2 separate regions of the Homo sapiens genome follow, and region 1 is linked to region 2. Evidence: promoter capture Hi-C in 16 types of primary human blood cells and fetal thymus (Javierre and others, 2016). All regions are on one chromosome and are shown on one strand. The core of a region is centred on a gene start or on the middle of the fragment in contact, and the rest is flanking DNA. Distances in the headings are between cores, read along the strand shown. Region 1 holds the start of DDN (dendrin). Region 2 holds the start of LMBR1L (limb development membrane protein 1 like).

What was found. Contacts are between HindIII fragments. The CHiCAGO score rates a contact against its expected background, and 5 or more counts as called.
Region 1: a fragment that was not itself captured here is called in contact with the fragment with the promoter of LMBR1L in region 2 in 1 of 17 cell types (naive B cells); the score reaches 5.6 in naive B cells.

Annotation. Positions count from the first base shown.
Region 1 is chr12:48,998,340-49,003,022 of GRCh38, reverse strand. It overlaps DDN (dendrin), which reads left to right and starts at 3,648. Exons shown (of 2, transcript NM_015086.2): 1 at 3,648-3,944; 2 at 4,357-4,683. The coding sequence starts at 3,736. DDN-AS1 (DDN and PRKAG1 antisense RNA 1) reads right to left here and starts at 4,676. Exons shown (of 2, transcript NR_147179.1): 1 at 4,333-4,676. PRKAG1 (protein kinase AMP-activated non-catalytic subunit gamma 1) reads left to right here. Exons shown (of 12, transcript NM_002733.5): 12 at 17-749. The coding sequence ends at 124. RefSeq lists an enhancer at 2,983-3,277 and silencers at 3,423-3,717, 4,367-4,683. The HindIII fragment of the contact is 218 bases long and covers 2,327-2,544 here.
Region 2 is chr12:49,109,019-49,113,280 of GRCh38, reverse strand. It overlaps LMBR1L (limb development membrane protein 1 like), which reads left to right and starts at 2,434. Exons shown (of 17, transcript NM_018113.4): 1 at 2,434-2,797. The coding sequence starts at 2,726. RefSeq lists a silencer at 1,688-1,868 and an enhancer at 2,726-3,265. The HindIII fragment of the contact is 30,486 bases long and covers 1-4,262 here.

The DNA of each region.
Region 1 (4,683 bases), core at 1,186-3,685, 110 kb after region 2:
TGTTGCTCTGTGCCAGGTTCACCGACTTGTAGTGGTGGATGAAAATGATGTGGTCAAGGGAATTGTATCACTGTCTGACATCCTGCAGGCCCTGGTGCTCACAGGTGGAGAGAAGAAGCCCTGAGCTGGGGGAAGGGGTCATGCAGCACCAGGGGATATGCCCAACTCACTGCCTGCTGGAAGCTCTGTGGGAATCAGATGAAACTTGAGGGAATTGTGACTCTGTTCCCTGTTCAGGGTCCCCTGCCCTTCTATCTGGGAGCTAGGGAAGGTATGGGGGAGGAAAGAGAATGGATTTATAGCTACCCTTACCCTCACACATACACTTGAAAAAACTTTCAGCCTAGCCAGTTCTAGCCCCTGTCCTCTTAGATATATCCCCCTTTCTGGGTGAACTATAGGCTCTGTGCCTCTCAGACAAATTCTGATCTCTAAGAGATCCCCAGACCTCACTTGCCTCTGCCTCCATCTTGGCCCTGATTCAACCCTAAGATAATAGCACAACAAAATTCTTCATAAAGATATTTTTATTCACCTGTTCCGTGCTATATGGAGGAGGCCAAGTCCATTTAGTGACATTTCTTCCCATAATGTGAGTGGGGAGGATTGTGGGGAGGAGGGGCTTTGGGTTCCTGTGTTTGTGCATATGAAGGGAGATGGGGGTTAGGTGGAGGAGGAGAGCAGCGTGGTTAGCTAAGGTTATTGCTTTTTGTGGCAAATCTAATTAAATGACAGGAATCTCTTCACGATATTGCAGTGTTTGATTTTTACAGTTGATGGGTACTACCTTCCTACTTTATATGGCTTCTTCAACTGGTCATTAACAATAATAATAACGTGTGTACGCACACACACACGTACACACACACGAGTAGACAGACTTGAGGGTCTCCTTTGGGCAGAGAATCCTGCCACCATTATCAGCTTTTCTTAGTTGGGGAAGGTTGGACTGTTTGGCTTTTGCTGAGTTGGCACTATCTTTTTTTTTTTTTTTTTTTTTTTTTTTGAGATGGAATCTCACTCTGTTGCCCAGGTTGGAGTGCAATGGCGCAATCTCAGCTCACTGCAACCTCCGTCTCCCGGGTTCAAGTGATTCTCCTGCCTCAGCCTCCTGAGTAGCTGGGACTACAGGCGCGCGCCACCACGCCCAGCTAATTTTTGTATTTTTTAGTAAAGACGGAGTTTCACCCATATTGGCCAGGCTGGTCTCGAACTCCTGACCTTGTGATCTACCTGCCTCAGCCTCCCAAAGTGCTGGGATTACAGGCATGAGCCACCGCACCCGGCCAGCACTATCTTTAAACCTACAAATCCCTTGCCTCTTCCAAGGTGAGAATGAGCTGGATGGTGGGAGAACAGCAGGGCAGTGGTCACTCCATCAGATCCATTCCCTGTATTGAAAGCATGTAGACCCAAACAGCAGTCAGCACCCAACATCAGAAGAACTGCTAGACTGGAGTATGAGCTAAATTTGGGTGCCAGCTCACCCCAGCCTTGCAGGTATGATACAGTTTCCCATCCAAGCCAGGAGCAATTTCGGAGTCATTCCTTGCCCCTGCCCCACAGTGCCTAACCCCTCTGATAACCCTCCAGCCAGGGCATACTGGGTTCTCCTGATGGAACACAGGGAAAAGCATCAAGGCCCTCATCAGATTCGACCTGAGGAAGCTTATTTTAAAAAAAGAAGGTGGCCCTCATCAGAGCTCAGCTTTCAGTGTTGCATCATGGCTGTGGAGGAGCCCCTGCTTCTGCCTTCACCCCTTTACAGCTCTCACAGCACATTCTCAACCTTGGGGGAGGAAGGCTTCCAAGTTATTAGAATTAGAGTATGTTTATGTGTCAGGAGGGTAAGCACATGGTGGAAAGGACAGATGGCCCCTTATGTCACATTCCCTCATTAAGGAAGATTTGCCTAGGGAGGAGGCAAGGGCTTTAAAAAGCCTCAGGACTCTAGTGGGACCTAGGGTGGAAGGAAGCATCTTCGAGTCAAGTCATCAGTGCAGCTGGCAGGTGTGTGGAATCAAGGGGGGTAGGGTGGATGGGACGGGATGTTTGCGTTCTCTCTAAAGGTTTGTGTTAGGGAGCAGAGACCTGGTTTTGTTGAGTTGTTTCTCAGTCTGTCAGTCTCTGCCCCACAACCTTTCTGGTTGTTCCCCATCCCCTTAAAAGGAAGGGTCTGGACCCAAAGGGCTCCATGTACATTAGTGGAAAACTAATTGGGAACTCTTGCTTCTCCCATTTCCCTCTAAAACCCAACCTATCCGTCTCAGTGTGAGGATGAAGCTGAGGGAGAGACAAGGGATGAAATTTGGGAGACTCACAAGCTTCTATTCTTACCTATTCCTCTCCAGAGAGGCAAATTATCCCTTCTTCCCGAGGAACCATGCCCCACACACTCTCCCCTCTCTCTGCACTGCTCCCCTCCACTGAAGCTGCTGCCATGGTTGCCAGGCATGGTTGCTAAGTCTCTGCATGGAAGGGTTGGCGTGGGCTGTGCTGCCACTAACATTACCATGGTGAATCAGGGGACACCTGGTATAAGCTTAGGAGGAGGGATCATGTGGATATAAGCAACAGCCCCCCAGGACAGAGGCAGCCCAAAAGGTGAGCATCTGGAGCACCACTTAAGGTGGGGACTGAGTGAACTAGGCATTGTGGTGGTGGTGAGGGGGAGTTCTACATTGAAAAAAATAAAGGCCACTTTTATCATTTCAGTTGCTAGGGGATTAGTTTTGCCAAGCAAACACATCATTTCTCCTCCATCCCCCTCTGGAAGGGTGAGAGTGCATAAGCACTTACTCTGTCCTCCATAAAGCTGGGCAGGCTGTGTGGGCACAGAACAATATAACCCCCAAATCCTGGCTTCTGGATTGGAGGTGAAAGCCTGCTGCTGTGGGAGGGCTCCCTGGCTGCCCAAGGACAAACATGTAGAATGGAACTGGTAGGGCAGCTTGGGTGGCCAAGGCAGACGCCTGTGTCCTGCTGTACCAGCAGTCCTAGGCTGCAGCACTGAGCTGACAAGGAGATACGGGTGTAGGGGTCACCCTTTTTGAGCTTAGGGAAGGCAGCTCTCCCTCAGAGTCGCACAAAAGCTTGGTAAAAGCCACCGCCTCCTCTCTCCACCGCATGGGAGCTGGTTACTCATCTCATCTCTGCACCCGAACAGCCACTGCCGCTAAAAATAGCCCCCCAGCCGTGGGCCAGCCCCTCCTGCACCCCAGCCCCATGGAAACCAGCAGAGTGGCAGGCAGAGACCTTGAGTTCCAATCTCATCACTCTATGTTGGGGAAACTGAAATCTGAGGCAGGAAGCCAGGGGCAGAACCCTGGTGGTCAGGCAACCTGACAAGCAGGAGAGTAAAGGGTTAAAACGGCAGGAAGGTTGAAGAAATAGGGGCGGGGGAGGGGGCACTGTCAGCTTGGCAAGAATCATAAGTCCCTCCCCCGCCCACTCGTGCGATCCCATCAGGCTTGGGGGACAACAGCAGTGGGAAGGGGCGTCCAATCCCGGGCCCCAGGGGGCGGCCGTGCACATGGGGGAGGTAGCAGCGCGGAGCAGTCCGCGCGGTGTCACATGCGCGCGCACACACAGAGACAGGCACACACACGTGTGCCCGGGTATATATAGTTCCCAGTCCCCGGGCCCGCGGCTCTGCAGTGGGCGCCGGCTCCCTGGGCTGGGAGGGGGCTCCTGGGGCGGGTGGGAGGGTGGGGGGCCGGGGTGGGGTGGGGCAGGATGCTGGATGGCCCACTGTTCTCCGAGGGGCCTGACAGCCCCCGGGAGCTCCAGGATGAGGAGTCTGGCAGCTGCCTCTGGGTGCAGAAGTCCAAGCTATTGGTGATAGAAGTGAAGACTATTTCCTGTCATTATAGTCGCCGCGCCCCTTCTCGACAGCCCATGGACTTCCAGGCCAGCCACTGGGCTCGCGGGTTCCAGAACCGCACGTGAGTGAAGCAGGGGTGAGGGGAAGAGAGTGGTGGGGCGGGGAGTGGGGTCCGGACCTCCCCGCAGGCACCAGCGAGCACTGCTGGTCCCCCTTCTCTTTCCCACGCCTTCCACCTCTGCCCGCTCCCGAGGGCTGGGGCCTGACTCATCCCGTTGTTTGGGGGAACAGAAGTGGGTGTGAGAAAGGGCAGGAGGTGAGATGGGGCAGACGCTGTTAAAGTGTGCATGGAGAGATGGCGAGGAGTCCCGCTTCGACTTCAGTCCTAACATATACGCACGTGCACACGCGCACACACTCACACACACCCCTTCACATGGCTGCCCCAAGTGGTCTCCAGTGCTCCCAGCTCCCCGGACCTCGGCTCCCTTCCCCCACAAACTGCTCACCTGGGTTCCTGCTCATTGTCCCAGGTGTGGGCCGCGCCCGGGATCCCCACAGCCGCCGCCCCGCCGGCCCTGGGCCTCCAGGGTGCTGCAGGAGGCGACCAACTGGCGGGCGGGGCCCCTGGCCGAGGTCCGAGCTCGGGAGCAAGAGAAAAGGAAAGCGGCGTCGCAGGAGCGGGAGGCCAAGGAGACCGAGCGAAAAAGGCGCAAGGCTGGTGGGGCCCGACGGAGCCCCCCGGGTCGACCCCGCCCGGAGCCCCGCAACGCCCCTCGGGTGGCCCAGCTGGCAGGGCTCCCTGCTCCCTTGCGGCCGGAGCGCCTGGCGCCTGTGGGGCGAGCGCCCCGTCCATCCGC
Region 2 (4,262 bases), core at 1,185-3,684:
GGTCCTGAACTCCTGACTGTTGGAAACAAGCCCCCCCCAAAATCTGGCCATAAACTGGCCCCAAAACTGGCCATAAACAAAATCTCTGCAGCACTGTGACATATTCATGATGGCCATAATGCCCCGCTGGAAGGTTGTGGGTTTACTGGAATGAGGGCAAGGAACACCTGGCCCACCCAGGGCGGAAAACCGCTTAAAGGCGTTCTTAAACCACAAACAATAGCATGAGCGATCTGTGCCTTAAGGACATGCTCCTGCTGCAGATAACTAGCCCAACCCATCCCTTTATCTCTGCCCATCCCTTTGTTTCCCATAAGGGATACTTTCAGTTAATCTAATATCTATAGAAACAATGCTAATGACTGGCTTGCTGTTGGGTAAATCTCTGTTCCTGGCTCTCAGCTCTGAAGGCTGTGAGACCCCTGATTTCCCACTTCACATCTCTATATTTCTGTGTGTCTTTAATTCCTCTAGTGCCGCTGGGTTAGGGTCTCCCCGACCGAGCTGCTCTCAGCACCTGACTTCAGGTAATCCACCCGTCTCGGCCTCCCAAAGTGCTAGGATTACAGGCATGAGTCACCGCGCCCGGTCTTATGGCCAATTTCTTTTTCTTTTCTTTTTTTTTTTTTTTTGAGATGGAGTCTCGCTCTGTCACCCAGGCTGGAGTGCAGTGGCGCGATCTCGGCTCACTGCAAGCTCCGCCTCCCGGGTTCACGCCATTCTCCTCCCTCAGCCTCCCGAGTAGCTGGGACTACAGGCACCTGCCACCACGCCCGGCTAATTTTTTATGTTTTAAGTAGAGATGGGGTTTCACCGTGTTAGGCAGGATGGTCTCGATCTCCTGACCTCTTGATCCGCCCGCTTCAGCCTCCCAAAGTACTGGGATTGCAGGCGTGAGCCACCGCGCGCGGCTAATGGCCAATTTTTAACTGCTCACTGAACTATGCAGCTGGATGTTGCTTTAAGAATTTAGAGGAGGTCGGGTCTGTTGGCTCACGCCTGTAATCCCTGCACTTTGGGAGGTCAAGGCAGGCCGACAGCTTGGGCCCAGGAGTTCAAGACCAGACTGAGCAACATGGCAGAATCAGCTAAGTGTGCTGGTGCCTGCCTGTGATCCCAGCTGCTCAAGAGACTGAGATGGGAAGATCACTTGAGCCTTGGAGTTGGAGGCTACAGTGAGTCGTGATCGCACCACTGCACACCAGCCTGGGCGACAGAGTGAGACTGTCTCAAAAATAAATAACTTAAAAGAAAATCTCCCTTCGTCTAAATCCTGTCTACTTCCAAGACACACACACACACACACACACACACACACACACACACACACACACACACACACACACACAAAATCTTGGCCGGACGTGGTGGCTCACGCCTGTAATCCCAGCACTTTGGGAAGCCGAGGCGGGCGGATCAACTAAGGTTGGGAGTTCAAGATGAGCCTGACCAACATGGAGAAACCACGTCTTTACTAAAAATACAAAATTAGCTGGGCGCGGTGGCGCATGCCTGTAATCCCAGTTACTTGGGAGGCTGAGGAAGGAGAATCGCTTGAACCCGGGAGGCGGAGGTTGCAGTGAGCCGAAATCACACCATTGCACTGCAGCCTGGGCAATAAGAGCGAAACTCCGTCTCAAAAATAAATAAAGAAATAAAAGCTGAATCACAACATCTTCCTCTGAAGTGTTGTTGTGACGTTAAAAATGAGATAATAGGCTGGGTGGGTCACGCCTTGTAATCCCAGTACTTTGGGAGGCCCATCACTTTGAGACTAGGAGTCCGAGATCAGCCTGGGTAACATGGCTGAGATAACGACTATAAAGTGAATGGCACATAGTAAGTGGTTAGCTAATGTTTGACTCAGCCCCACTCTTCAGTGATCCTTGTGGGCATTTCTTCACAAAGTTGCAAGGTATTTCTGTAGTCCTCTCTCCAGTATTTTTCAGTATTTGTTCTAGCACACACTAGGTCTTCCACAAAAATGATTGAATGAAAACTCCTGGCAGCGGGAAAGCGGGGTGGGGATGTGGGGAGGGGCACCCCAACACAAACACACAGAAAATGCTACTACAGAACATCGGTTACTGGGCAGCGGTACATTTCAGAACCCCTAGGGTGCCCTCACATCCTGCCTGGCTGGCCTGCTTCAAACGGTTCATTTAACCAAGGTCATACTAAAATGTTGGCTGCTACTAAAATCCAGGAACCTTCACTTTTCCCAGATAAGAGAGACAGTTGCTCTATTAGTATGGGCAGCGGTAGGCCCAAAAGATCCCGCCTTCCTCCACAGGGCGAGCCTATCAGCGCTCCTCCAGCGATGAACGACAGCTCTCCAGGAGCCAATGAGTTCCTCCCCCTGGAAGGAACCCGCCCATCCCTTGTGTCGTCACTAGATCTCTTAAAAAGATGGACCCTCAGCGGCGCTTCCTCGTAGCGAGCCTAGTGGCGGGTGTTTGCATTGAAACGTGAGCGCGACCCGACCTTAAAGAGTGGGGAGCAAAGGGAGGACAGAGCCCTTTAAAACGAGGCGGGTGGTGCCTGCCCCTTTAAGGGCGGGGCGTCCGGACGACTGTATCTGAGCCCCAGACTGCCCCGAGTTTCTGTCGCAGGCTGCGAGGAAAGGCCCCTAGGCTGGGTCTGGGTGCTTGGCGGCGGCGGCTTCCTCCCCGCTCGTCCTCCCCGGGCCCAGAGGCACCTCGGCTTCAGTCATGCTGAGCAGAGTATGGAAGCACCTGACTACGAAGTGCTATCCGTGCGAGAACAGCTATTCCACGAGAGGATCCGCGAGTGTATTGTGAGTGCGGGGCCCCGGCGAGGAGAAGCGGGGGTTGCGGGAGACGGGGAGGTTGGGGTCCGAGCCCACCTGGTCTCAGAGTGCCGTCAAACCATGCCTGGGCCAGCGGCGGGCGACGGAGGCCTCCGTCCGGGCAGAAGGGCGGGTGCCCGGCTAGCGATCCCCTAGATGGGATCAGCTGGGTCCCTGAGCGATAAACAAAGGCCGTCGTTTCCGTTCCTCCCCCACACGCCCCTCCCCTGCCCCTCCCTCCCACCCCTCACCCAGCGCGTCTTCCTGTTGGGGGTCTCCGGGGTCTGAGAGCCTGCGGAGTCTGCCTTAGTCTGATAATCGGGGAAGGATGGGTTTGCTTCTCAAACTGGGTTGAGGGCAAACTCAGCTGACGTTGGATGAAGGGGAGACGTCGTCACACTGAGCTTGATTCCAGAAAAGAGGGGAGGTGTAGGGATGGCAGACGGGAGGAACCTGGGGACTTGGTGGGTCATCTGCTTTGGAAGAAAGGAGTCTTGCTGGGGTGGATCCTAATATGTAGAGATGAGGAACAACCAAGTATTCCCCCGTCTTTTTTCTTTCTCATTGGTGTTTGTTTGAAACCCTGCAAGGCTGGGTTCCCAGCCTCTCAGCCATTCCGGGGTTTCCCCAGTGAGTGGTCCTCCCAGGGCTTCAGAGGGTACCTGGCTGCTGTTCCTTACGCCCTCCCTGCCACTTAGAGCGACAACTGAACCTTGCGCACAGAAGTGGACTACTCAATTCTGGGGTAGGGGTACCCAGTGGAGCTTAGGGTGTCATATCTTTCTCAGCCTTGCTTTGAATTTTCACCTCTCTCCTTTCTCCTGTGTCCTTCCCCAGAGCTCACCAGGGCAACCCTCATCTCCAGATAGTAAATGGAAAGGGAATGGTTTGGAAAAACAGAAAGAAATGTTAGTAAGTGTGGGAATCCATTGTTGGGGTCATTCCCTTCATTTTTCTCAGGCTGGGCTCTAGCCAGCCCTGGGCAGCCTGATTGGAGGAGGGGTAAATTGAGCCAGGACATAATTAGGTCTGCTCTTATCTGTGAGGACAGGAAAGTATATTAGTCTGTGTGTGCAACTCCAGTAGAAGTGTGCTTTCGGCAAGCCTTCCTTGTGTGTTTCTTGGTGGACAGTCCACATGGTGGGTTGGGCATATTGCAGAGGCACACCCAGGCCTTGAGACAGTGTCGGGCTGGAGGCTCAAATTCCTAGAGAACAGGGAGGGATGAGACCTTGGACAGAAGCAGCCTCCTGGATGTCTCCCTAATCCTTTAGTCCCATGAGCTGAGAACATCAGTGCTGGCTAAGGGTAGCCTGAAGACTTATGGTGCCTCCCCCACCTGGCTCTCATCTAGAGGCTAGAGAGCAGCCTAGCTTCTTGGAACTGCGTGGAACTCCAGCCTGACCTTTTGAGCCCTCCCACCTTCCTGGCTATTACGCAAGCCCAGAGCAGA